7 separate regions of the Homo sapiens genome follow, and regions 2, 3, 4, 5, 6 and 7 are each linked to region 1. The links are contacts of gene promoters, found by promoter capture Hi-C in human tissues and cell types (Jung and others, 2019). All regions are on one chromosome and are shown on one strand. Each heading gives the region's core, a stretch centred on a gene start or on the middle of the fragment in contact. The rest is flanking DNA. Distances are from core to core; before and after follow the strand shown. Region 1 holds the start of RGCC (regulator of cell cycle). Region 2 overlaps VWA8 (von Willebrand factor A domain containing 8). Region 3 holds the start of KBTBD7 (kelch repeat and BTB domain containing 7). Region 4 overlaps VWA8 (von Willebrand factor A domain containing 8). Region 5 overlaps VWA8 (von Willebrand factor A domain containing 8). Region 6 overlaps VWA8 (von Willebrand factor A domain containing 8). Region 7 overlaps VWA8 (von Willebrand factor A domain containing 8).

Region 1 (3,686 bases), core at 883-3,382:
AGGAAGAGTATTACAGGGCTGTGTACACCCCCTGCGCTATTGGGAGTAATATCATCCTCTCTCCCTCTGGATAGTAGGAAGAGTTTCATAGGGGTGTGTACACCCCCTGTGATATTGGGAGTAATATCATCCTGTCGCCCTGAGGAGAGAAGCCATTTCGCTACTGTCTCCTGTCTCTGAAGAGGAGGAGGAAGTAAAAGTTGGAAAACAACAGGAATGAAGTCAGTGTCAAGACCAGCCGGTGGCAATGAGGAGCCGGCCTGAGGTGAAACAATCAACCCCCGTGACTCTAAGTACATGTGCTCTCAATCCATCAAGACCCTTTCACGTGGAACCCCTTAAAGCTGTAAGCCCTTAAACGGGCCAGGAACTCTGTCTTCCTTCCGGGAGCTCGGCTCTTAAGACGCGAGTCTGCCGAAGCTCCCAGCGGAATAAAAAAAACTCTTCCTTCTTTAATCCGCTGTCTGAGGGGTTTTGTCCGCTGCTCATCCATGCTCCATTTCTTTGTTCCCTGACCGGGAATCGAACGCAGGCAGCAGCGGTGAGAGCACCGAATCCTAAGCACTAGACCACCAGGGGAACTTAGAACCTTGTGGGAAATAGATTGCGCACCATTAGAAGTGGGTTGGCCATCAGAAGGAAGCCTGGACAGGTCCCTTGTTTCTAAGGCGTGGCACAAGGTAACTGGTAAAGATACCTAGACCAGTTCCCATACATAGACACTTGGTGACAGCTGGTGCTAGAACCCCCACAGTGGCTGAGGGCATGCAGCAGCAATACTAGTAGCAAAGGGACAGATAGCTAAGGAAGGATCCCGCTCCACTCACCCAGGGAAATCAACTCCTGAAGTTCTGTTCGACCCCACATCAGAGGATCCATTGCAGGAGATGGCACCAGAGATCCCAGTGGTGTCCTCCCCTTAACAGGGAAAGAGGCTCCCCACTCTTGAGCCCACAGTGCTTGTGCCTCCACAAGACAAGCATATCCCTAGGCCACCCAGAGTAGACAAGAGAGGAGGACTATTCATATGATTAGTGGTCATTAACATATACTCCTTTGTGAGGTGTATGTTTCAATGTTTTGCTCATTTTTAATTTTTACCAGGTTGTCTATTTGTGATTACTTTGTAGATGGGTCTTTCTATATTCTGAAAACAAATCCTGGCTGGGTGCGGTGGCTCACGCCTGTAATCCCAGCACTTTGGGAGGCTGAGGTGGGCAGATCACCTGAGGTCGGGAGTTCGAGACCAGCCTGGCCAACATGGACAAACCCCGTCTCTGCTAAAAATACAAAAACTAGCTGGGAGTGGAGGCTGAATGTTTCACTCCGTTACATGTTAATTGCTCTACATTTAATTAGCCGTCTGTGGTGAGAGGCGAGAGGCTAGCGCCTAGCTCAGCGCACAGTCCAGGGCGTTCGCCCCCGCAGGCCGCGGGGCAGGGTGGCTCGTTACTCCGTGGACACTGCAAGGCGCCCTGTTCGCGCTGCGTCGACGCAGTAGTTTCTTCCCATAATAAACCCCTTCTAGATAAAGTCAGGCTGGCGGGAGCGCCCTGGACCGTAGTTCAGGCCCCCGCGCTCCGCGGTGGGAACAGTTCAGGACTCCCCCAACTCCTGCCCCTCTCGCCCCGACCCTCTCCACTCCGCCCGCCCACCATCTCGGAAGTCCCCTTGGGACAATGCGTAGGGGACCTCCGCGTCCCCGACACCCGACTGGGACACGGCCGCGGGCTCCTTCGTCCCTCACCGCCAGCCAGGGAGGCTCTGCATGCCCACGTCCACTTCACAGCCGAGGAAGCTGCGGCTCGCGGAGGTGCCTGGCACGCGGCGGGAAGCAGCAGAGCTCGCGCCCAGCAGTCAGCTCTGGTGACGCCGAGGACACCGCGTGGGCCGGGTTGTCAGGGCGCGGGGGCGAGAGGCGGGTAAATATTTGGGGCTGTAACCGGGGCTTCGGCGACTCCTCGTCACCGCGGTTCCAGGGCGGGCGCGTGGCGAGGGCGGTGCCTGGGGGCAGGGGCCTCCTCGGAGGGCGGCGGGGACAGACCCGTCGCCCCGGCTCCGCAGCCCCGCCCCGGCCCCGCCTCCGCTCCGGCCGCCGAAGGCTATAAGATCTAGGAACCCGAGCCGGTGGTAGGGCGGGCGCGGACCGTGCTGGGAGCGGCGCGGCTGGAGCGCAGCGCCGAAGGGACTGGCAGGGCTGAAGTGTGCGGGACAGCAAGCCCCCGAATAGCCCCGGCTGCCACCTCGCAGGACCCAAGGCCACGCGCGCCGGGCCCAGCTGAGCCGCCTCATGAAGCCGCCCGCGGCGCAGGGCAGCCCCGCGGCCGCCGCGGCCGCAGGTGAGTGCGGGGTCCGGGGTCCCCTTAAAGTCTCGGCTCTGCAGATGGCGGGTGAGAAAGGAGGGGCCCCGTGTCGTCCCTTCACACCCCCCACCCTTCCATCCTCCCCGGCGGGAACCTGTCCCCGGTCTTCCCGCGCGGGCGGCTGCAGCCTCCTTTCCGGCCCGGGCTGGCCCCCATGTCCCACCTTCCCTCCACCACCAGCTCCGCGCGCGCCCGGGGTTGGGGGGAGCGGCGGGGACAGGTAACCGGCAGCGCCTGGGGAGGAATCTGGCCGCGCCAAGTCGCTGGGTGACCCTGGGCCTGGCGAAGGCTCAGTTTTCTTGTCTGTAAAACGGACTTGGTAATAGAACGCACTTCGGGGGTGGTGGAGAAGATTACAAGGTAACAGCGACTGCGTGGCTGTCACTTGGCAGAGGCGCCAAGTGTCAGTTATCTTCGGGAACCGTGGCGGCCCCTCCTGGCCCTGGGAGGTGGTCCCGCTGCCCCCCTGACTTCCGTGCACTGAGCCCCTGGCCCTGCCCGCAGCCCCGGCCCTGGACTCGGCGGCCGCGGAGGACCTGTCGGACGCGCTGTGCGAGTTTGACGCGGTGCTGGCCGACTTCGCGTCGCCCTTCCACGAGCGCCACTTCCACTACGAGGAGCACCTGGAGCGCATGAAGCGGCGCAGCAGCGCCAGTGTCAGCGACAGCAGCGGCTTCAGCGACTCGGAGAGTAAGTGCGGCCCCCGCTAGGATGGCGCCGGGATCTCCCAGCTCCCAGGACCTGCCCCGCGAAGGCTGCGGCCTCAGTTTTCTTATCAGTAAACTGAGGAATGGTTTCCTGAAGCTCAACGCAGTAGGCCGAGTGGTGGCGGGGCCCCTGACGATAATCACGGGAAAGGTCGCTGGAGGGCAGGTTGGTTCACTTGCCGCCCACGGGTGTGTCACCAGGCAGGCGAGTTTAAGCAGCTTGTCCCGACTCAGCCAGACAGGACTCCCTGGACCTGCACCAGGCCTTTCCGCAGTTTCCCTCCTCTTCTCCTTTCCGTGCCTCTCCCCTCTCAGCTGTAACTTTGCAGATGTGGAACAAGTGCCAGTGGAATGAGGGGGCACAGTGGGGACATGGGAGGGCGCAGAACGGAAATATTCATGAAACCAGGAAAGGTTTCATAAGCCCAAACTGCTGTTCTTGGGATTTATGAAATAACTGCTTGCATTGTCTTCTGGCCCTTAGCTCTCAGACTTGTTGCTCCATTGCATGCAGTTATGAAAATCTTTGGCACTGCTGAGTTCAAGTATTTTTCAGCCAGGTCCTCCACCAGGCTGGAGGGGGAGCCAGAGAGCACATGGGCATGAAGGTGGTTCC
Region 2 (3,812 bases), core at 239-2,738, 400 kb after region 1:
TTACCAACATTTGTTACCTTTTATCTTTTCGATATTAGCCACTCTAACAGGTGTAAAGCAATATTTAATTGTGGTTTTAATTTGCATTTATCTGATGATGAGTGATGTTGACCACTTTTTATATGTACCTGTTGGCCATTTGTATGTCCAACAAGTATATTTTAAAATGCCTGAGAAATGTCTATTCAGGTTCTTTGCCCATTTTAAAACTGGGTTGTTTTATTGCTACTAAGTTGAGTTCCTTTTACAGTTTAGAAATTAACTCTTTGTCAGCTGTCATTTGCAAATATTTTCTCCCATTTTGTAGACTGACTCTTCTCTGTTGATTGTTGGCTTTGCTGTGCAGAAGCTTTTTAAGTTTGATGCATTTATCTCATTTATCTGCATTTATCTCATTTATCTATTTTTGCTTTGGCTGCCTATGCTTTTGGTATCATCTCCAAAATACTGTTACCCAGACCAATATCTGCAAGCTTTTCCCCCTTCTTTTCTTCTAGTAGTTTTATAGTTTCAGTCTTACATTTATGTATTTAATCCATTCTTAGTTGATTTTTGTATACGGTATGAGATAAAGGTCTAATATCATTGTTCTGCATGTGGATATACAATTTTCCCAGTACTATTTATTGAAAAGACTATCCTTTCCCCAATATGTGTTCTAGGCTCCTTTGTTGAAAACTAACTAGCCATTAATAGTATATTATTTCTGGGCTCTCTATTCTGGTTCCATCCATCCATATGTTTGTTTTTAATGCCATGCTATTTTTATTACTATTCCTTTGTGGAATATTTTGAAACCAGGTAGTGTGGTGCCTCAAATGTTGTTTCTCAAGATTGCTTTGGCTATTTGAGGTATTCTGTGGTTCCATATGAATTTTAGTATTTTTTTTCCATTTCTGTGAAAAATGTCATTGGAATTTTGGTAGAGATTGATTGCATTGAATCTGTATTGCTTTGGGTGGTATCGTTAGTGTTTTCTATATATAAGATCATGTCATTTGGAAACAGAAAAAAGTTTTACTCCATCTTTTGTGATTTGGGTACATTTATTTCTTTTTCTTGCCTAATTGCTTTAGCTAGGACTTTCAATAGTACATTGAATAGAGTGGTGACAGTGGGCATCCTTGACTTGTTCCAGATCTTAGAGGAAAAGCTTTCAGCTTTTTACCATTGAGCATAATGTTAGCTGTGGCCTTGTCATATATGGCCTTTATTATGTTTTGTATCTGTGGTCACCAGGGATATTGGTCTGTAATTTTCTTTTCTTGTAGTGTGCTTGTCTGGCTTTGGTATCAGGGTAATAATGGTTTCACAAAACGAGTCTGAAAGTATTCCCTCTTTTTCTATTTTTTTAAAAAGTTTGAAAAGGTTTGGTTTTAGTTCTTCTTTAAATGTTTGGTACAATTCACAGGTTAAGCCATCACATAATAGGATTTTCTCTGGTGGCAGGTTTTTGATTACCGATTCAATCTCCTAACTCATTATTGATTTGTTCTCATTTTTTCATTTCTTCATGATTCAGTCTTGGTAGGTTACATATTTCTAGGAATTTACCAATTTCTTTTAAGTTATTCAGTTTGTTGATGTATAGTAGTCTCATGAGCCTTTGTATTTCTGTGCTATCAGTTGTGATGTTTGTTCTTTTGTTTATAATCTTGTCTCTTCACTTATTCATCTAGCTACAAGTCTGTAAATTTTATCTTTTCAAAAAAATCAACTCTTAGTTACACGGATCTTTTCTGTGGTTTTTCTGTTTTCTATTCTATTTCATTTTTTCAACTAGACATCTATTGTCCATGAAGGAAACAGAGTTGAAAAGCGTGTTGTCCATGCCTTCAAGGAGCTTACAAACGATAGGAGAGACAAATTGCTGTTTCATCAATTCCAAGATATACATGTTTTATATTTTAATATCTCTGAAATCAGGGTGCAGCTTCAATTGATAGAATCTTAACAACAGTTGCTGAAGAGTCAGTTACCATTGTGTACATATATGTGCACTTGTTTCTGCTTGTTTGTTAGTATGTTTGTTAGCTTGTGGCTTAAAGAAACAACTGTAATCCATCCATGTTTTAGTCAACAAATTACTCTTTTCCATTTGGGAAAAGAATATGAGTTCTAGTTGTTGCCTAAAAACATTTCTGTCAGTACCTTTGGTTAAAATTTTAAAAATATCAGTATCAAAACCAGCAGAATGGCTGTCAGTAGCTTGGAAGACAATTGGGGAAACAATAGAAGAGCATTCTGTTCCTGACCAACCAAAGGAACACACAGAGAATATACGTGAAACAACATGAACATCTGCAACTGAATCATAAAGTGCTTTAGAAGAGTCAGACTATGATGGTGCATAAGTTTTAAAAATATTTCAAAATATTTTTTATTGTTATATTTATTTATAAATTTATTATATTTATTTTTATTTTATATATATTTTCCTATTTATTATATTCATATTTTCCTTTTTCTGCATGCACAGGAGGAATATAATCTAAATTAAGTCTGGAAGAGTTCTTTAAGACAAATATGAAAATTCTAAGTGATAAAGTCTTATATCGTAATTTAATTTGAAGTACTTTTTCTTTCTTAGTGGTGCATCTTACAATTGAGTGCCTCTTGGAGCTAATGAAATACAGTAGTTATTACAGTACAGAATGATAAGTGCCATGAAAAAGGCCATTAAGTGATGCTGAAACAAAGAGGGAGTACATATAAATTAAATTCAAGATTTACAGAAATTCAGAGCAGGCAGTGGAGCTAAGTTTTAAAGGTTAGCAAATTGGCCTACAGGCTCTGAGGGGTGGTTCAGGCAGCATGAAGAGTGCAAGAAAGCATGGAGTGGTAGGCAGCAAGTCATGTTGGGGAAACTGCAAGTCATCCCTTAAGGCTGGAGTTATAAGGTAAATGTTAGTTGCACAGTTGAGGTCTTACAGGGGCCAGATAAAAAAGAGCACTGTGTGCTAAACAGCATAATTTCAATATTATCTTGCAAACTGTGAGTCGTGATTAAAAAATGTGAAATAGGGGGAAAATTAGAAAGAACAAAAATCAGTATTGTAAGGATGGATTGGGCAGATCCCAAGCTGGAAATGAGTGGAAAGCTTAGAAAGCTAGTGTTGACAAATTCATTGAGAAGGGCTGAGCACCAGAAATAAAGCTACTGTAGCCCATGGCTTGGCTGTTGGCGGCAGCAAGGTACCCACCCAATGGCCCACCACGGGTTTAAATATATATATATTTATTTATATATATATAATATATAATATATAAATATATATTAATATATATTAATATTATATAAAATATATTTATATATAAATATATATATGAAGTAGAAGAAAAAAGAAATAAAGCTACTGTAGAAGAAAGAGAAATACTGATATAAACATAAATTAAAATGTGATAAGGTAGTCAGCAATTAAAAGGAACAAACTACTGATACATGCAACAACATAGATGACTCTCAAATGTATTATATAAGTGAAAGAAACCAGATGTAAAAGGCACATAATGTATAATCCCATTAATATGACATTCTGGAAAGGCAAGACTAATGGGGATAGAAAGCAGTGGTTGCCAGGGGCTGGGTTTGGGTGGACTACACAAGGGAACAAGGGAATTGTTCAAGGTGATGGAAATGCCCTATATCTCAATTGTGGTACTGGCCCTACTACCAAATGTGTTTGTCAAAATGGACTGAATTTTACTATGTATGAATTATACCTCAGTAAACGTGACTTTAAAAACCCCACCAAAAATGTGATAAGATGGAACACAGCCACACTCATACATTGATGTACTGCCTTTGTCTG
Region 3 (3,836 bases), core at 56-2,555, 260 kb before region 1:
CTGCTGCAGATACAAGAGAGTTGCTGCTGCTACTGCTGCTGCTGCTGTTTGGCACTGGCACCAGAGACTTGTACAACAGGTCACCATAGCGCATCTGCAGGGCCCCTTCAATAACGTCCAGGCAGTACTTCTTCACGATGGGCTTGGTCAGCAGCCCTTCTAAGTAGTCCTGATCTTCTTCAGTGAAGTGCATCCAGCGCACGCACTTGAAGACTTCTGCAGCACTGGGACCCCGCTCTTTGGCAGCAGCCTCCAGCCACTGCACAGCTACATGGCATACAGTCCGCTCACTCTCTATGTCCAGACTATCCAGGCGTAGGACAGCCAGCAGCTGGGCCAGGGTTAGATCTGCTAGAGTCTCCTCCCGAATTGAACCCATTCGGCTGAGCTGCTTGAAGTTGTGAGCTATGTAGGACTGGGCCTGAGATCGAAGCTTGTGATGGTCGAAGGCGTCTGCAAACTTGAGGATGGCGGTGCAGTTGGTCAGGTCAAGACGTCGGGCTAAGAAGGAGGCACAGGCTTCCCGCACATATTCCAGCTGTAGCATGTCGGAGGCCGCGTACAGGCGCTGCACATTGGCCTCACTGAGAGACACACGACCCGTGTAGCAGTAGTCGACCAACACCTCGAAGGACTCGGCGTCCACATCGTGCATGGTCACGCTGGCCTGCTGGCTCTCGTACATGCCACCTGTGAACATGCTCTTGAAGTAGGGACACGCAGCTGCTAGCACGTTGCGATTGCAGGAAAAGAGGCGACCCGTGCCAGGCCCGCTGCCAGGCGTCACCACCTCGATGGTCACATCACACAGCAGCCGCGCGTCGTAGAAGGACTTGAGCTGTGCCAGCAGGGCTGCAGAATGGGCCGTGTCCTTTAACTCCTCTGGACCCGTGAAAAAGGCCGAAACCGAGGGCTTGGAAATCCTCTTGGGCCGCCTCCCACCACGGGGACTGGCGAGGCGGCGAGAGCGCGGGACGTCTTCCCGGGACTGCATGGTGGAGATGGCGACGGGCGCTGACGGCGAGAAAGGCTGCAGGACCAGGCTCTGGCTCCTCCTCAACCTTCCCTCGCTGACGCTAAGACAAGCCGCGTCCTGGAACAGACTGCGGCACGGGCCGCACTTCTGAATTCAGCCCTATCCCGCGGTGAGGCCTCCCTTTATTGCATAGACAGTGGCTGACTCACCCTCTCTCACTCCCGCGCCCTTTCTCCGCCTCCGCTCGCCCTCACAGGACCCGCTGGCTTGCAGCCGCGGAAGCCCCCACTGCCGCGCTGGCGATCCCGCTAGGCGCCCGGGAGAACTACTGCTCCCAGGTTGCCTTTCGCGCCCCGAGGCCTGCTGGGGCTCTCGGACGGCCGGGCGGGGACAGAGGGAAAGAAACCGCTTTGCATGTTGGGAGTAGTAGTTTGTGTAATATCGCGAGCTGTCCTTTAGTTGACTGCTCTAACAGTAGAAATTAATTCTCCTGGATTTGATGGTGAAGAGACTGTTGCCCAGGCTGGTCTTGAACTCCTGAGGGCTCAAATTATCCTCCTGCCTCGGCCTCTCAATGTGCTGGGATTACAGGCGTGAGCCACCGCCCCCTGCCAGTATTTCATAGGGTTTTGTGTGGTTCAATGATACCTTACATGGGATACTTAGATACATGTATGTTTTTGGTTAGAAGAATAGTAAAGCGTTACCCCGTGCCTAGAATGTAGCCAATAACTGTTAGATTCTCTTTTATAATTTATGATAAATGAGGCACCCACTAATTTGAAACCGAGTATTATTTTAAACCGCAAAATTTTACAAAGAATTTCTAGTTTTTAATGTTTATTCCTTCGAAAGATTTTGAAGGGCATTAACAATATTTTCAATATTAAATGATATCTATTGGTCTCGTTTAATAAGGATGTCTTAGACGACTAGGTTGAGGTCCTAAAGAACAGTATTAATAGATGGTCTCAAATACGCAAATCCAGCATATAAAAATAAATTATTTGCTGCTCTCACTAACATTTCATCTCTGGAGAGCAGGAGTATTTTCGTTAAGCTCCAAATATGAGTGTTTTCAAGTCGTCTAATACAGCCTCTTTCACTGCCGTTCCACAAATCAATTAACAGATTATGTAATTCCCTTTATTAAGGAGTTTTAGGGAGTATTTTAACTCAAAATATTTCAACAAACAGACTTTGTTCTGTACAAAAGCACATGATTCTCAGAATTCAACATCAGTACATGCCCTGACATTCCTTGAATTAATATATAGTATAGTCTATGCTTTACAAAGTCTTTTATATTTGCATTGGGATCAACAGTTAAATCATCAAAATCAAGTATTAGAGATTTGAGGCAGGAAAATAGGGTCTGGAGGCAGGGAACATAAGGCTGATTCACACTTTAGCTATAACAGGAAAGATCCTCTCCATAGGGTGTATGCTGAGTAAATGAGTTTGTAACTTTACTTCATTCTCTTCATTTACATAGGGTGTACACCAAGTAACCAGTGGAATCCTCTAGAGGGTATTTAAACCTTCAGAAATTCTGTAACAGGGCCCTTGAGCCCCTATGCTCAGGCCCGCTCCCCACTGTGGAGTGTACTTTCATTTTCAGTAAATCTCTGCTTTTGTTGTTTCATTGTTTCCTTGCTTTGTTTATGTGTTTTGTCCAATTTTTTGTCCAAAACGCCAAGAACCTGGACACCCTCCACCAGTAACAGACTTTTTCAGATAACTTTTATTACAAAACCATGACTGCTCCTGCTGCTAGTTTGTTATGTTACCATAACCTAATAAAGAAAATCATCAGTGTTACATGCATGTATGGATAACACATTACAAGAGAATAACTTTCAAATTGTTTTTCTCTTATCAGCTGAAGATAACTTCAACTTATCAGCTGAAGTCCACTGGAAATACTCTAGGGTAGACACATTAAATTAAGTCAGCCTCTGGGCTCTAATAACTCCTCTGTAAATAAAAAGAGATGTTAGATATCCCTCAGATACACCAGAGAGAATCAAGTCAGTCATTATCAGTAACAATGATTGTTTCCTGACTTGCAGTGAATACCAGCTGGGGAAAAAAGCCTTTTTTTTTTCTTTTTTTTTTTTTTTTTTGAGATGGGGTCTTGCCCTGTCACCCAGGTTGGAGTGCAGTGGCACCATAATAGCTCACTGCTGCCTCAAACTCCAGTGCTCAAGCAATACTTTGCCCTCAGCCTCCCAAGTAACTAGAGCTATAGATGCATACCACCACACCCAGTTAATTAAAAAAAAATTATAGACAGGGTCTCACTGTGTTGCCAGCCTGGTCTGGAAATCTTGGTGTCAAGCACTCTTCCTGCCTGAGCCTCTGAGTTGCTGCAATTACAGGCATGAGCCACATGCCCAGCGCAGGAATGGCCATTTTAAAAAACTTCTTAAAATATTGGTAAAATATACATAACACTAAATTTACCATTTAAACATTTTCAGTGTATAGTTCTTTAGCATTAAATATATTCACACGGTTTTGCCACTATCACAAAACTGAAGCTCTGTACCCATTTAAACAATAACTCTCTAGCCCCCACTTCTGGCAACTGCCATTCTACTCTTTGTCTCTATGACTTTTGACTACTCTAGGTACCTCATATAGGCAGTGACTGATTTTTACCTTCCTTATATCTGCTCTTACTGTGTTATTTGGTTTAGGTTACCTGTCACACAATTGAAGATATCTATTAGGCACTATTCCCTAAGATCTAGAGCTATGTGCTGTCCCATAAAACTTGGGAATATTTTATATTTGTGCTGGCTGATACAGTAGCCAGAAGCCACATGTAGCTCTTGGGTACGTGAAATGTGGCTAG
Region 4 (4,193 bases), core at 81-2,580, 320 kb after region 1:
TATCTCTTTTTCATAGAGATGGTGGGTAAATACATAAATCTAACTAAATCCCAAAAGAAATCTGTAAGTGACCTATCACACTTCAGAGAGTGCAGTCAAGCCTTCAAGCCATAGCATTCACAAGCACTTTATTAAAGAAGCATATTCTAGAATATTACAGCCAGAAAGACCCTAGAAAATATCCATGCCAAGCCTATAATTTTATAGATAAGAAAAAAGAAAAGGCCCTAATTAGAAGGAATAACTATTTACTCAGTATCACATATCAGTTGATATCACACATATCAATTTACTCACTAACAATTTACTCAACTATCACAGAGAGTTAAAAAATCTGAAAAGGAAGGAAGGTCTTTGGGTACCCAGCTTATTACTTTTCCATGATGCCACATTGCCACTCTGAGGTTAAGAGAATGTGAATGGGCAAAGGTAAGAGAAAGAAGAGAGCATGCTGGCAAAGATTAGAGGTTGAAATATAACACTGATAAGAAGGTATGTTTGGGAAACAGAGTATTTAATTTGTCTGAGGAAAAAAAGCATTTACAGGGAGAAACCAGACACCAGGCTGAAAGCAGAGCAGGATTAGATCATGGAGGACATCAAATGACAGTCTAAGAGAGTTAGACTTTTTCACTATATAATATAATGAACATAGGTAGCAGAATTTACTTCCAAAAAAACATTCCTTCAACATTGGTATTATAATATAACACTGATGGTCTTAGAGGTTTATAATCAAAGAACAGAAAACTCTTTTGATATGAAAAGGGTCAGCTAAACATAGCAAATTATACTGAATACAATCTCCCTTTGTAATTTCTTCTTTCTCCAAAGTGGAGAGTGGCAGGATAAGAGTACAAGATGGCAAGACAGTGTGATCTGCTGACCACAGATGGCTTTTGCAAAATAACTGATAAATGAAAGTTTGTGCCAACCCGTGGCTCCTGCCTTGCTCTTCGTGGGGATCTTCAACTTGAAGGCTCTATCTAGCTGAATCCTGAACCAGTCCTAGACAGGCTTGAAAATCAGTGGGCTTGACCATCCTTATCAGATGCTGGAGTCCAACCATCTACCTATGGAGCTGTAGCTGCCCTTCCCTCCACCCCGCTGCCTAGCTCTTTGCTCTAATGCCTTGTTCCTTTCTTTAGGACTGGAAACAAAAGAGAGATAGCATATTAGATTTTATGCCAAGGTTTGTATAGCACCCTAGGACAATTCCAAAACACTTTCACAGTCTCTGCTTCATTCATCATAAAGCAGAGGCAAACCTCTGTTCTACTTCACCCTTCACTCTGAATAGCTCTCCCCAATCCTCCAGAGGTTAAAACATTCTTCCTGTCTCTCTGGTTACTGGCTAGGCATTAACTTCAACCTTTTAAACTAGAAGACCCTCCTGAAACTCTAATCTATTACCTGCTCAATTGCAAGTGCTACCTTTGCCAAGAAACCAACTGCATCTAACCCACCAAACCCTCAGGATAGCAATACCATGACAGAGATTTCAAAACCACTTGGACTCCATACCTTGACCTCTAGGGATCTTCCTTTTAAAAACCTGCACCTTAGAAAAATTATTCCTCAAGCCCCAGTTCTGTATAGTCTTGGTCTATTCTCTTCTCCATGCTGGTCTGCCGCTGCTGGGATGCCAAAAGCCTCTGTGTCTCTGGCCATTCAGGTGATGGCAGAAGTTCTGAAAAGGACACACTGAGTGCACCAAGGTTTAACTTATAAAGAGTTTGTGAAACTCTTATAAAAAATTTACAAAGTACTTTGGGCTATATACAACCTGAATGTCCACAGAGCCATTGTTTTTCAAAGTGTGATGAGAATGTGACTTCCTGGGTTTCAATATCAAGAGCCAAATTCTGACTGTTAACTGATCTTCATCTTCCCACTCTGGTATATAGGTTCATCTTTTACTGTTCAGTGAAGAAAAATAGGTAGGACTTTTCAAATAGTGGGAATTAAAGGGTCATAAATAATTTATTGTTCTAGTTTTAATTCTTGTTTTAAAAAATGAAACAAGAGAATATTACTTTTAAACTATACAGTGATACAGAGGTATTTAGCTGACAGAACTGAGCACTGTGTGAAGCACTTCCCACGCATTATCTCATGACATCCTTACGTTAGCCCAAAGGGACCATACTATTTTTATTCCCAGGTTAGACATCAAGAAACTGAGCCTTAGTAAGATAAGCAATTTGCCCAAAGTCACACAACCATATGTGGAAGAGTTGCTGTTGAGCCTCTAGTTATCTAATTTCTAAGCCTATGCACTCAAATCAATAAAGCACACAACTGGCCCATTTTTACTTTTATTTTTAAATCAGTACTTCAAAATGATAAGTTTGAGAGGCTAAATATATAAAGAATATGTATTATTTTTATAAATACAAAAAAGAAGAAAAAATAGAAACCAAACTTTAGAAGCTTTGTTACCCTTAATTTAAGACCAATTTAAAAAACCAAAAGTGCTGTTCACTGTGAGCCTGAAAATTCAATAGAGGAAAATTATCAGGACCCTGTAAACCTAAAATTTTCATACGTTCCTCCATAAACATACATTGAGTGTCTACTATGTAACAGGTACCATGCTAGGAGCTGAGAACAGAGATAAATAAGAAAAACACAGTCCCTGCTCTCAAGGGACATATAGACAAGTTGCAAAGACAGTCATATGGTATGACTAGTATGACAAAAGGGAGATAAAAGGGAGTAGAAGCAGGAAAAACCTATTCAGCCAGGGACAAGGGAAGGTCTCTCTTCCATGAGTTAAAGGGAGGGTATATGGGAAGGGGACAGGAAGTTCTCCCTGCAGAAGGAAGAGCATGTACTGAGGACCAGAGCAGAGATAAGTAACTGAATAGATAAGGAACTGCAGAGTGCCTCAAGCCAACACAGTGAGAGAAAGAAGGGGCCATGGCTTAGGAATAGAGGGGTGGGCAGAGAGTGAATCCTGTACACTGTACTGAAGACTCAGACTATACCTAACAGAAATGGGGAGCCAATTTCAGCAAAAAAGAGAGGCTCAATCAGATTTTAGTTTTACAAGTATCAATCTGACAACAGATACTACAGAATGGAGAGTAGATAAGAATGGGCATAAGGTGGGGATGGAGCTATCATAGGAAACTACTGCTGCAATCCAGGTGACAGGTGAAGATCACTGGGGCTAGAGTGACAGATGTGGACAAGAAGAGTAGATACTTATAAGACAGAATGTACATAACTTGATGAGGGACAGAATGGAGCATGATTTAAACCTTGAGGTAATTTTGAAGTTTAGAAGGTAGCAGAGTCTCATCCTTTAATTAAACCAGTCATTTAATAGGGGAAAAAATAACTGATTCCAACAAGAAGAAACTTACTGCTTTTAAATTGTTACTATCATTTTTTCATTGGTACCTAGATTTTAGCCATAACTCACCTGGTTGCCAACCAATAATAAGTGTTCTCCAAGGAGAAAGTCTTTCAGCATATCTTCCATCACTATCACATGCTAGAGAAAAAGGAACTAGGGGTTAACTGTTTTGTACAATCAAGGTTAAATAAGAAAGTTAACTATAAAGATATCTTTATAGAATATAAATATCTATTATAATAAACAATTATCAATCGATTTGATATAACCCAAAATTAAATCTGTGGTTATAAGTAAATTATATAACCATTTAGGTCACTGATACTGAAAACTTGAAATAGTCCACCTGAGCAAAACTAAGCAACTGACCAACATTTCAGAGTTTTTAATAATTCAACTCAAATATTTTTTTACCTATTATACTATGTAGAGTTGGCTTATAATTTAATATTTAAATTGATACTTGCTAATGTAAATATACAAAGGCTTCCTAAAATAACTGTACACTTCTAGGGAACATTTTACATTGACTTGTTCTTAACCATTACCTTTAAAGCTATGGATAGCTTCAGAATTAAAAATATATTATTTACCTTCCACACTTTTTAATTTGAATTATGACACAATATAATAACAGAACAAGATTAAGGTTGTTCACAATAGCCACAGAGGAAATTACATTGCTCTTTTGTATCTTGAAAAATAAGACACCTGTAAGTAGGTCATGCGGGTTCTTTAGGGCTGGGAAGAGATCTACACTCCAGCACAATTAATATTCCTATTACTTTCTCTTGGTTTTCTGTATCAAATAGCAGCTAAATAAGTACTA
Region 5 (3,956 bases), core at 743-3,242, 500 kb after region 1:
CAAGTGATCCGCCCACCTCGGCCTCCCAAAGTGCTGGGATTACAGGTGTGAGCCTCCACACCCAGCCCATAGAGTGTTACCTTTAACACAGATCCTCAACCTTTTTACATATCTTTGTACACCCGTATTTTTACTGCATACAGTTTCAAATTATCCAGCAACATATCCTCAAACTTCAACATTTCTAGGTGCATAAAAGGAATAAAGCCCCAGTGGCATAAATGCCAAGAACTGGCCAGGTGCAGTGGCTCACGCCTGTAATCCTAGCACTTTGGGAGGCCAAGGCAGGCGGATCACTTGAGGTCAGGAGTTAGAGACCAGCCTGACCAACATGGTAAAACCCCGTCTCTACTAAAAATACAAAAATTAGCTGGGCGTGGTGGTACGTACCTGTAATCCCAGCTACTTGGGAGGCTGAGGCAGGAGAATCGCTTAAAGCCAGGAGGCGGAGGTTGCAGCAAGCCAAGATTACGCCACTGCACTCCAGCCTGGGCAACGGTGCGACACTCCGTCTCAAATAAATAAAAAATAAAAGCCAAGAATTCCTACATGAAATAAGCAAAAGCAGGCAAAAGTTTTCAGTAAGTTCTATACAGTTCTATTTTTTAATGTAACCTTAATTTCCGAGTGATCTTCTAAAGCCGAGGACTAAACTGAATAATCTCTCCCCGCTGTGCTCTCTCTAACAGCAAAATAGGCATGGTGATACCATTTGCATCTAGAATTTCATTTGGAAAGGGCTCAGAGACACTCCAAAAAAGTAGTCGTGCAAAACTCATCTTTCAGCACTGCCAGTTTAAAGCTAGCAAGATACCTTGAACACTAAGGCCTTAAATCATGGTACTAATAACAATAGCCAACATTTGTTGAATGCTTACTACCTTCTAAGTATTTTTTGCATTCTCAAAATAATCCTATGAGACAGAAATTTTACAAATGAGAAAATTTGTAAATCCATAACAGAGTTTTTAACAGATAAAGAAATTTATTACAGGTATGTGGTAAATTGAGAGAGGAAGATAAGGACTACACACAAAGCTAAATCCCTGCTAGGTCCAAAACTGGCAGCCAGAAAAAAGCAAGGCAAAAGATGATGAGGACCAAAATTCAAAAGCCTGCAAAGCTCCTCCATAACCCGTGCACCGCTCCCTTTTCCTCCCCTGTCCAATTAACTCTTTGTCTTCACGCAATCTATCACAGAGATTCTCAAAGCATCAACGTCACCTGGGAACTTGTAAGTCATATAAATCTTCAGGCCCCACCTCAGACCTACTGAATTAGAAACCCTAAGGTCCAGCAATCGGTGTTACAATGAGCCCTCCAGATGATCTCTAATGCATGTTTGAGATCATTTGGTCGTTTAAGTTCTAACACCCTCAAAAAACAGGTGGTCAGCAGTGCCTCATATAGTACAATCTTAGTTACTGCCAGGTATTGGTTGACTGGTCATCTCGCCCTATTTTCCTTAATGCAGGAAAGAACCTATAAATTAGCTACTTTCTACAGTAGCTTTTCTTTTAAAAGATAAGCTTGCTTACAAATATAAGTGATATTATCTACTGGCTTTTATTACAGAGTAGTTTCAAGAATTATAGTTACAGTATTTTCAAATAGGATGTCTTTACAAATGTTATTTCACTTCCTGAAAAGACTGTAATTATTTGGCCTCCTGACAAAATGATACTGAGTAATTAATCTGAACATAAGAAAAACGTTTTCAGGCACAGGTTCTCATTACAAACATTCCCTGAGTGTTAGAGCTGACCGACATCATCCTTCTAATAAATAATCTAGAAAAAGGGCAGACTATACAAATTCATGGTAACTTGACAATTGGCTGTCCATTTTTTTTTTAAAAAAAGTAAAATTCATACCTCACATTTCTGAAAGACAGTACATTCAAACTGAGTAACTGAGGAGAGTACAAAAAGGGAACTATTTACAAAGGTATAGCAGAGTTTACGGAAACCAAAAAAGATGGTGCAGTATCCTAGGACTAGCAATAACAGAAAGTCATTACCGCCCCTAGGCCTGAAGGGGCAAGGGGAGAGAGCAAGCAGAGAGGGTCACTGTGTTAGGAAGCCTCCTTCTGGGTAACACAGCAAACCCATAATGGTGACCTGGCAGGGAGGGAGCTGGGAAATAAACATGAAGCAAAAACGGACAGAACTAAAAGTGGAAATAGAAAAATGCACAATCACATCTAGATATTAATAGCTTTAAGTAGCTCTCTTGGTAAATAATGGAAGAAGTAGGAAAAAATAAAGAAGGATACAGGATAAGGATAATTTTTTCTCAGCCTTCTGGCAAAGACCAAGTATAGACGTAAAGAAAGAGAAGATTGGAAAACATTATTAATCACTTGGCCTAAATGACATTTATGGAACACTACACCCAACAACAGAATGCATATTCTATTTATTATTTATTTAAGTATTACTGCAAGTATGTTTTTATTTTCTCAACCTATCAACTGAATATTGTATTTTATAAAGCACTTTTTAGTATTGTAATTGGTTCCTCATGATCAGAATGCATATCCTTTTTAAATGCACATGGAACATTCACCAAAATAAATTATAGGCTGGACCATAAAGCAAGTCTCAAGGAATTTAAAGATGAGACCAGGCACAATGGCTGGTGCCTATAATCCCAGCACTTTGGGAGGCCGAGGTGGGTGGATCACCTGAGGCCAGGAGTTTGAGACCAGCCAGACCAACATAGTGAAACCCCATCTCTACTAAAAATACAAAATTAGCTGAGCGTGGTGGCTGGCACATGCCTGTAATCCTAGCTACTTGGGAGACTGAAGCAGGAGAATTGCTTGAACCAGGGAGGCGGAGGTTGCAGTGAGCCGAGATAGCGCCATTGCACTCCAGCCTGGGCAACAAGAGTGAAACTCTGTGTCAAAAAAAATTAAAAAAGAAAATTAAAGGATGGAAGTCATAAAGATTATGTTTTCTTACCACAGTGGAATTAAACTGGAAATCAGTAACAAAAAGGTAACTGGAAAATCCCCAAACATTTGGAAATCAAGCAACAGGCTTCTTAAAAAATCCAAAAAATAAATCACAACGGAAATTGGACTCATTGGGAAACAGGGTGGTGATCAATGAGCCACATCTGCAATAGACAAAAGGGAAAAGTTATGACATTCATATGGACCAGGCATCTGCCATCTCTGCCTCAAACATTGATGTTCTTGGCCATCTTCTGTTACTACACTACACTTTCCTCAGTCATTTAATCCATACCAATGTCCCAACTCTGACCTCTATACAACCTTTTTTTTTTTTTCAGTTAAGGGTACTCTTCAAACACCATATACAACTAATTCTTTAAATGTCTATTTTGGCTCAGATCTCTCTCCTGAGTTTCATACCTGCCAGTAGCCTACTGGAGACTTTACCTAGATATTCCAGAGACAACTCAACAAACACACAGAAACAGAATTCTATATTGTCCATTGTGTGCGCCTAACCACCTCTAACCAGCTCCACCTCTTGTATTCCTATCTCAGTGACTAACACTTTATCTCCTCAGCCTAGAAGACCTTCCACATCTCTCTCACACCACTTGCCCTCTACACAACTACTACTGAAATATCTTCATCTCCCCATTGAACCTTCCCTAACTTTTCCTCTAGCACAAATTGATCACTCCATTAGTCTTTCTGCTAGCACAGGATCTGATTTATGCTTCTGTAATGGAAATACAAATTCAAGGAGATAAGAGACATTTTCTAACAATTAAAGAAGAGCTTTTTATCTACTTCCAAAATAGAGATAGGATATTCTATTTCCACTTAAAAGATACACTCAGAATTTGTACTAAATTACTAGAATATTCTGTTTCCACTTAAAAGATACACTCAGAATTTGTAATATTTTTTCTTTTAAATGCCAATATTTACAACATACTGGAAATGTCATCGTTTGCAACTATTTAAACTTACC
Region 6 (4,127 bases), core at 819-3,318, 340 kb after region 1:
AGAAGGCTTTTGAGTCTGCAGCCTTGCTAAACTCAACAGATGATGCATAAACAAAATAGCTGTTTTCTATTCATTTCTAGTTGAAAGGGTCATGGAGTGATTACAAAATAAGAATTTTTTGTGGTCAGTTGATAACACTGGAAAAATTAGTCAACTATTTGATTCAGTGAATATGTATGAGAATGAAAAGTAACCAATTTTTGTTTTTCAGTTTTTTTAATTATGAAATATTTCAGTATTTCAGAAAATTAAAGAGATTATAGAAAATTATGAAGACTATTAAACATTCTATTCATCTCTCTCCATCTCTAGAGAGAACTCTAACCTTGAAACTGGTGTGTATTTGTTGTCCATATTTTTATATTTTGCTACGTAAGTGTGTATGAATAAAAAATATATTGTACTGTTTATCACATTTAACATTTTGTACAAATCACATCATATACTGAATCTCCTTTTGCAACTTTTTTACTCAATATTAAGGTGTTATGATAGATAACTGTAAATGCATGCAACTTACTTCATTTTGACTGTTGTAAATTATTTTATCATACAAATATATCAATTTATATATTCATTTCCTACTGATGGACAGATGGGCTGTTTCCAATTCTTCATTATTACAATGATACAGTGAACATTCCTGTATATACCTCCTTATATACACATGTAAGTCTATCTTTAAAGCAGATATCGAGAAGTGGAATTGTCAAATCATAGAGTAATAATATATTTAGGCAAAAAAAAACTGTTGAAACTTCCATCCCAACAGCAGTGATGAAATTACATTCCTCTCCATTCATAAAAAATGTTACTACAAGTAAAAAATTTAAAGTATAAAATGATAGCTGATTATTATTTTAAATTTCATTTCACTGATTATTAATGAGGCTGAGCATGTTTTCAAATGTTTATTGGTCATTTGAATTATTTAAACTTTGCATAAATATCTATTCATTCTTTGCCCATTTGGAGTTAATTCTTTTTCCTTATTAATTTGTAGTTACTTTATAGTCCCTGAATGCCAGTGCTTTCTTAATCAAAAATCATCCAAAACATCTTTCCTAGTTTGTGGGTTATAACTTATAAAGTAGTTTATAGTGTCATATAACTGGATTTTACCTTTTGTGTGGGATAAATTGGAAAATCTTTATTTATAACCATGTATTGACAAGCCAACATTGATTTACAATGCTACATCTTATATACTAAGTTCTCACAAATATGTAGGTTTGTTTCTGTGCTCTGTATCTATTCTAATAGTCTATTTGTTTTTCCCTGTACCAACACATACTATTATAATGAATACAGATTTAGAATTAATATTGATATCTAATAGGTTAAGTATACCCTCATTAATCTTATCAAAATTTCTTGGCTATTAGTAGCCTATTATACTTCCATGCCAATTTTGAGACCAGCTTGTCAAATTCACTATAATCTTGTGGGATTTTGACTAATTATATCTAAATATCAACTTGGAGGGAAACAGTTTTACAATACTAAATCTTCCATTTATTTGTCTTCTTTTATAACTTTGAATAAAGATGTATACTTTTCTCCATTAAAGCATTACATGATATTTATTAGATTATTCTTAGTTGTGCAAAGCTTTCTACTATTATTTTGAATGAAATTTTTAAAAATTATATTTCCTTATTGATTGTTACTGGAGTATAGGAAATGTCATTGATTTGGGAGTATAAATAACCTCACTAAACTCTATTTGTTCTAAATAATTTATTTGTATTTTCTCTTGTATTTTTAATGTAGCTAATCATATAACCTAGGGCAAATGTACTTGCTAAAAGTGCTGAAAGATATTCTTGTTTTGGTCCTAACTCTAAAGAAAATGTGACAAGTATTTTGCCTTAAGAATATTTGCTGTAAATTTCTGGTAGATATTCTTTATGAGATTAAAGAATTTCCTTTCTGCTTGTAGTTTACTAAGAATATTCCAGATTTACTAAGTTATATTTGTTTTTGCTTTGGTTTGTTTTTAGGGCTGGCTATTGAATTTTATCAAACACTTTTTCTCCATTTAGTAGAATAATTTTTCCTCAACTAATAAGAAGATGAATTAAAAAACAGAATATCAAACCTTGACATTCTTGAGGTAATTCCAAATTGCTCATGAACCTTTAAATATAATATACCTACATTTGAGATAAATAAGAAAGATATGTTTTAATAGATGGAAGTGAAAAGAGGAAATCTCAGAAATAAACATTACCTTTTTCTGACTGATTGAATGTGTCCTCCCTAAGATTCATAGGTTGAAATCCTTTTGCCCATAGTAAAATTGTCAATTAAAAATACAAATTTAGGTCGGGCACGGTGGCTCACACTTGTAATCCCAGCACTTTGGGAGGACAAGGCGGGTGGATCACGAGGTCAAGAGATCGAGACCATCCTGGCCAACATGGTGAAACCCCATCTGTACCGAAAATACAAAAAACAATTAGCTGGGCCTGGTGGTGCACGCCTGTAGCTCCAGCTACTCAGAAGGCTGAGGCAGGAGACTTGCTTGAACCTGAGAGGTGGAGGTTGCAGTGAGCCGAGATCGTGCCACTGCACTGCAGCCTGGCGACAGAGCAAGACTCCATCTCAAAAAAAATAAATAAATAAATTGAAAAGAATATTTGCTGCATGTGGCTAGCCAGTTCTCCCAGCAGCATTTATTAAATAGGGAATCCTTTCCCCATTGTTTTCGTCAGGTTTGTCAAAGATCAGGTGGTTGTAGATGTGTGATCTTAGAATTTCTGAGTTCTCTATTCTGTTCCATTGGTCTACGTGTCTGTTCTTGTACTAGCACTGTGTTGTTTTGGTTACTGTAGCCTTGTAATATAGTTTGAAGTCAGGTAGTGTGTTGTCTCCAGCTTTTTTTTTTCTTAAGATTGTCTTGGCTATACAGGCTCTTTTTTAGTTTTTTATGAATTTTAACATAGTTTTTCCTAATTCTGTGAAGAAAGTCAATGGTAGTTTAATGGGAATAACATTGAATCTATAAATTACTTTGGGAAGTATGGTCATTTTCATACTAATTCTTCTTATCCATGAGTATGGAATGTTTTTCCATTTGTTTGTGTCCTCTCTAATTTCCATGAGCAGTGGTTTGTAGTTCTCCTTGAAGAGGTCCTTCAATTCCCTTGTTAGCTGTATTCCTAGGTGTTTTGTTCTCTTTGCAGCAATTGTGAATGGGAGTTCATTCATGATTTGGCTCACTGCATGCCTGTTGTTGGTGTATAGAAATGCTAGTGATTTTACACATTGATTTTGTATCCTGAGACTTTGCTGAAGTTGCTTATCAGCTTAAGAAACTTTTGGGCTGAGACAATGGGATTTTCTAGAAATAGGATCATGTCATCTGTAAACAAAGATAATTTGACCTCCTCTCTTCCTATTTGGATGTGCTTTATTTCTTTCTCTTGCCTGATTGCCCTGGCCAGAACTTCCAATACTGTGTTGAATAAAAGTGGTGAAAGAGGACATCCTTGTCTTGTGCCAGTTTTCAAGGGGAATGCTTCCAGATTTTGCCCATTCAGTATGATATTGGCTGTGGACCCCATCCTTATGCCTTATACAAAAATTAACTAAAGATGGATTAACAACTTAAATGTAAAACCCAAAACCATAGAAACCCTGGAAGAGAATCTAGGCAATACCATTCAGGACATAGGCACAGGCAAAGATTTCATGAGGAAAACCCAAAAGCAATTGCATCAAAAGAAAAAAATTAACAAAAGAGATCTAATTAAACTAAAGAGCTTCTGCACAGCAAAAGAAACTATCATCGGAGTGAACAGATAACATCCAGAATGGGAAAAAAATTTTGCAATCTATCCATCTGACAAAAGTCTAATATCCAGAATCCACAAGAAACTTAAACAAACTTACAAGAAAAAAACCCACCCCATTAAAAAGTGAGCAAAGGACATGAACAGACACTTTTCAAAAGAATACATTTAGGCAGCCAACGAACATGAAAAAAAGCTCAACATCACTGATCATTAGAGAAATGCAAATCAAAACCACAATGAGGTACCATCTCATGCCAGAAAAATAGCAATTAGTAAAAAGTCAATAAACAATATATGTTGGCTAGGCTGTGGAGAAATAGGAATGCT
Region 7 (3,898 bases), core at 495-2,994, 410 kb after region 1:
TGATGAAAGGCTTTCCCTATGTTTCTCCTGAACTTTTCCAGTTTATAAGCACACATGACTCTGGAGACATAGACATATAGATACCGACAGAAGCAGTACTATCAAGAGAGAAGACTTACAAGGAGATCATAAACCCAATTTAGGTCATAAAAACAGGCAGAATAAGGTATATCATAGAAAGAATAAACCTGTGATTAATTACCTTAATGGTCACCTCTTTATCTGCAATCCGGATGGTCACAGAAGCTTGGGACACATGGTTTTCCATCATCTTCTCTACTTTTACAATCTCTTTAGGAAGTAGAGAGCTTCCTGAATCTTGAAGTTCAAAGCGCTGTAAAATTACAAGAAAATCATGCAATTTACTTTTCATTTTAGCATTAACATTGGCTATCTGACAGATTACACCTTAATTACAAGTGAAATCCATTTTATATTATTATATAAAAGTAGAGGTTAGGCCAAGGGCGGTGGCTCAGGCCTGTTAATCCCAGAACTTTGGGAGGCCAAGGCGGGCGGATCAGAGGGTCAGGAGATCGAGACCATCCTGGCTAACACGGTGAAACCCCGTCTCTACTAAAAAATAGAAAAAAAATTAGCTGGGCGTGGTGGCGGGCACCTGTAGTACCAGCTACTCGGGAGGCTGAGGCAAGAGAATGGCGTGAACCCGGGAGGTGGAGCTTGCAGTGAGCCGAGATCGCGCCACTGCACTCCAGCATGGGCAAAACGGCAAGACTCCGTCTCAAAAAAAAAAAAAAAAAAAGGAAAAAAAAAAAGTAGAGGTTAAAAAAAGTTAACGAAAATTTTTTTCTATTCCTACTAATACCATTCTACTTACAATAATTATTAAAGATCATATTAAAATAGTCCCTAAAATTTACTAAATGACAAGAAATGGAATCACTGAATTCCTGACCTGGTAGAAGTTCATAGTTTACATTTCTTGACAATCAACTTCCTAGAAGGAGATGATGAGACCCTTCAAAATATGCTGAAATAGGCCCATATTGGTTTATTCTTTAAATCAATCGAAGTTAATGTGTTACCTGAAATTCATGAAAACAGAACTTCTTGGCCATCATTCTGCTGTCAGCTATGTGAATAGCTTAACTAAAATTATTATAACAATTTTCCACAGCATATGGTACAGTGCTTTCTACACTATAGGGGTCTCAATATTTGTTGAACTGGATTTAAAAGGCTAGAACCACCAGGCACAGTAGCTCATGCCTGTAATCCCAGCACTTTGGGACGCCAAGGCAAGCGGATCACCTGAGGTCAGGAGTTCGACACGAGCCTGGCCAACATGGTGAAACCCTGTCTACTAAAAATACAAAAATTAGCTGGGCATGGTGGCACGCACCTGTAGTCCCAGCTACTTGGGAGGCTGAGGCACGAGAATCCCTTGAACCCAGAGACAGAGGTTGCAGTGAACTGAGATTGTGCCACTGCACTCCAGCCTGGGCAACAGAGCGAAAACTTTGTCTCAAAAAAAAAAAAAAAAAAAAAAAAAAAAAGGCTAGAACCATTGATTCTTGATGTGGCCCAATTATCAACGTTCTAACATTGACTACACCACTTCATTCCAGCTAGCTATATCAAAACTACACAGAAAGAATACAGGTAAGTATGTGAAAGATGAAAATAAATTGAAAATTAAGTTCTATGCCTTATTTATAACAGCATGCTCAATATAAAAAACTGAATTTATTTTTACTATTAAATAGGCAGAAATTAACCCCCAAAATCCTACACTAGTTTTGGAACATTATTACTATAGTGAAAGAGTTGAAACTCAATGAAAGAACAGATCATCATGTATTCAGCAGAATGAAAGAACTCCAGAAAATAGATTTGGGAGGAAGAAAATCATGTTTAACCTCAACATTCTAAACTTAACATCCCAGTTCAAGTCTTCATTTTGATGTCATAAGTACTCAAGACAATCACTAACTCCTTTCCCCAAACCTAAAAAAAAACCTGTGAATTTATACTGCCATTAAAAAGTTCTATATTTCATACAATTTATATATGCAAATCCCCACAGTATCACATAATTTGACAAGAATTGCTTCCATGTTGTAGACAAATAACAACTATTGACACCTTAATTTCATGAAAAAAAAAAAGTTCCACTGTATTTTAAGGAGAACTCAACAGGAAAGGAGCAAGACCTACCCAAGTAATTAAATTCATTAGAATGTAGAACAAATGGCTGGGCGCAAAGGCTAATGCCTATAATCCCAGCACTTTGGGAGGCAGAGATGGGTGGATCACTTGAGGTCAGGAGTTCAAGACCAGCCTGGCCAACATGGTGAAACCCCGTCTCTACTAAAAATACAAAAATTAGCTGGGCGTGGTGGCATGTGCCTGTAATCCCAGCTACTCGGGAGGCTGGGTCAGGAGAATCGCTTGAACCCAGGAAGAGGAGGTTGCAGTGAGCCAAGACGTGACACTGCACTCTGCTTGGTGACAGAGCAAGACTCCGTCTCAAAAAAAAAAAAAAAAAGAAAAAAAATTTAGAACGAAGATTCATTAAATTCTAGGAAAACAAATAAATGAGCTTAAATGTATGTTTTCCCACAGCTAGAGTAGTGTCAATCTAACTTGATACAGGAGTGACGTCAGAGGACACATATTCCAGAAATAAACACTATGTCCTGAGCCACTTGCTACACTGGTTATGTCCACACAAATAATTAAAGCTAAAATATTTTAGTAAAATAAAAATAGTAGGCCAGAATACACTAAGATAGTAAAAACCTCAAATTGCAAGGTGAATTATCATTTTCTGGCATGGAAAATTTAGAGGATTGTTACTCAGAAAGGTATTAATCAGAAAGGTACCCCCATATTCTCTATCTCCAACTCCATCATTTAAGTTTCTCAGTCCAAAAGCTTGAAATCACCCTTACCTCTGTCTCAACCCTGCATCCAACCCTTCAGCAAATCATAATGATTCTACCTTCAAACTATAACCCAAATGCAACTACTTCTTATCAACATCACAGCTGGTCAGAAGAACAATAGACATATAATTATTTCAGGTTACTTCCTAGCAAGAAGTAGAAAATAAGAGTTTGTTAACTTACCACTTTCTGAGTATTTCCTATGAATTCTTGAATTTCAATTAAACAGTATTAACATTTTCTTTTTTATTTTTTTAAATTTATTATTATACTTTAAGTTTTAGGGTACATGTGCACAATGTGCAGGTTAGTTACATATGTATACATGTGCCATGCTGGTGTGCTGCACCCACTAACTCGTCATCTAGCATTAGGTATATCTCCCAATGCTATCCCTCCCCACTCCCTCCACCCCACAACAGTCCCCAGAGTGTGATGTTCCCCTTCCTGTGTCCATGTGTTCTCATTGTTCCATTCCCACCTATGAGTGAGAATATGCGGTGTTTGGTTTTTTGTTCTTGCAATAGTTTACTGAGAATGATGATTTCCAATTTCATCCATGTCCCTACAAAGGACATGAACTCATCATTTTTTATGGCTGCATAGTATTCCATGGTGTATATGTGCCACATTTTCTTAATCCAGTCTATCGTTGTTGGACATTTGGGTTGGTTCCAAGTCTTTGCTATTGTGAATAGTGCCGCAATAAACATACATGTGCATGTGTCTTTATAGCAGCATGATTTATAGTCCTTTGGGTATATACCCAGTAATGGGATGGCTGGGTCAAATGGTATTTCTAGCTCTAGATCCCTGAGAAATCGCCACACTGACTTCCACAATGGTTGAACTAGTTTACAGTCCCACCAACAGTGTAGAAGTGTTCCTATTTCTCCACATCCTCTGCAGCACCTGTTGTTTCCTGACTTTTTAATGATTGCCATTCTAACTGGTGTGAGATGGTATCTCATTGTGGTTTTGATCTGCAT

Evidence for each region. Contacts are between HindIII fragments. The study calls those that stand out against the background at their distance.
Region 2: a contact is called between a fragment that was not itself captured here and the fragment with the promoter of RGCC in region 1, in 2 of the 25 tissues and cell types used here (IMR-90 fibroblasts and lymphoblastoid cells).
Region 3: a contact is called between the fragment with the promoter of KBTBD7 here and the fragment with the promoter of RGCC in region 1, in 1 of the 25 tissues and cell types used here (adrenal gland).
Region 4: a fragment that was not itself captured here is called in contact with the fragment with the promoter of RGCC in region 1 in 1 of the 25 tissues and cell types used here (dorsolateral prefrontal cortex).
Region 5: a fragment that was not itself captured here is called in contact with the fragment with the promoter of RGCC in region 1 in 1 of the 25 tissues and cell types used here (mesendoderm cells).
Region 6: a contact is called between a fragment that was not itself captured here and the fragment with the promoter of RGCC in region 1, in 1 of the 25 tissues and cell types used here (mesenchymal stem cells).
Region 7: a contact is called between a fragment that was not itself captured here and the fragment with the promoter of RGCC in region 1, in 2 of the 25 tissues and cell types used here (lymphoblastoid cells and spleen).

What each region holds. Positions count from the first base shown.
Region 1 is chr13:41,455,418-41,459,103 of GRCh38, forward strand. It overlaps RGCC (regulator of cell cycle), which reads left to right and starts at 2,133. Exons shown (of 5, transcript NM_014059.3): 1 at 2,133-2,339; 2 at 2,868-3,053. The coding sequence starts at 2,291. RefSeq lists a silencer at 1,906-2,745 and enhancers at 2,319-2,996, 3,046-3,175. The HindIII fragment of the contact is 31,337 bases long and covers 1-3,686 here.
Region 2 is chr13:41,852,078-41,855,889 of GRCh38, forward strand. All of the region lies in intron 12 of VWA8 (von Willebrand factor A domain containing 8), which reads right to left. Among named protein-coding and RNA genes, the nearest start is that of VWA8, 110 kb to the right of the region's middle. The HindIII fragment of the contact is 3,996 bases long and covers 1-3,486 here.
Region 3 is chr13:41,193,264-41,197,099 of GRCh38, forward strand. It overlaps KBTBD7 (kelch repeat and BTB domain containing 7), which reads right to left and starts at 1,306. Exons shown (of 1, transcript NM_032138.7): 1 at 1-1,306. The coding sequence starts at 994. The region is part of intron 3 of KBTBD6-DT (KBTBD6 divergent transcript); the gene reads left to right. RefSeq lists enhancers at 48-755, 756-1,462, 807-1,076, 1,387-1,476. The HindIII fragment of the contact is 7,226 bases long and covers 1-3,836 here.
Region 4 is chr13:41,774,555-41,778,747 of GRCh38, forward strand. VWA8 (von Willebrand factor A domain containing 8) reads right to left here. Exons shown (of 45, transcript NM_015058.2): 20 at 3,431-3,502. Among named protein-coding and RNA genes, the nearest start is that of VWA8, 180 kb to the right of the region's middle. The HindIII fragment of the contact is 8,096 bases long and covers 1-4,193 here.
Region 5 is chr13:41,950,902-41,954,857 of GRCh38, forward strand. All of the region lies in intron 1 of VWA8 (von Willebrand factor A domain containing 8), which reads right to left. Among named protein-coding and RNA genes, the nearest start is that of VWA8, 8.2 kb to the right of the region's middle. The HindIII fragment of the contact is 3,084 bases long and covers 451-3,534 here.
Region 6 is chr13:41,791,206-41,795,332 of GRCh38, forward strand. The region is part of intron 17 of VWA8 (von Willebrand factor A domain containing 8); the gene reads right to left. Among named protein-coding and RNA genes, the nearest start is that of VWA8, 170 kb to the right of the region's middle. The HindIII fragment of the contact is 5,753 bases long and covers 1-4,127 here.
Region 7 is chr13:41,868,144-41,872,041 of GRCh38, forward strand. It overlaps VWA8 (von Willebrand factor A domain containing 8), which reads right to left. Exons shown (of 45, transcript NM_015058.2): 10 at 203-334. Among named protein-coding and RNA genes, the nearest start is that of VWA8, 91 kb to the right of the region's middle. The HindIII fragment of the contact is 5,241 bases long and covers 1-3,898 here.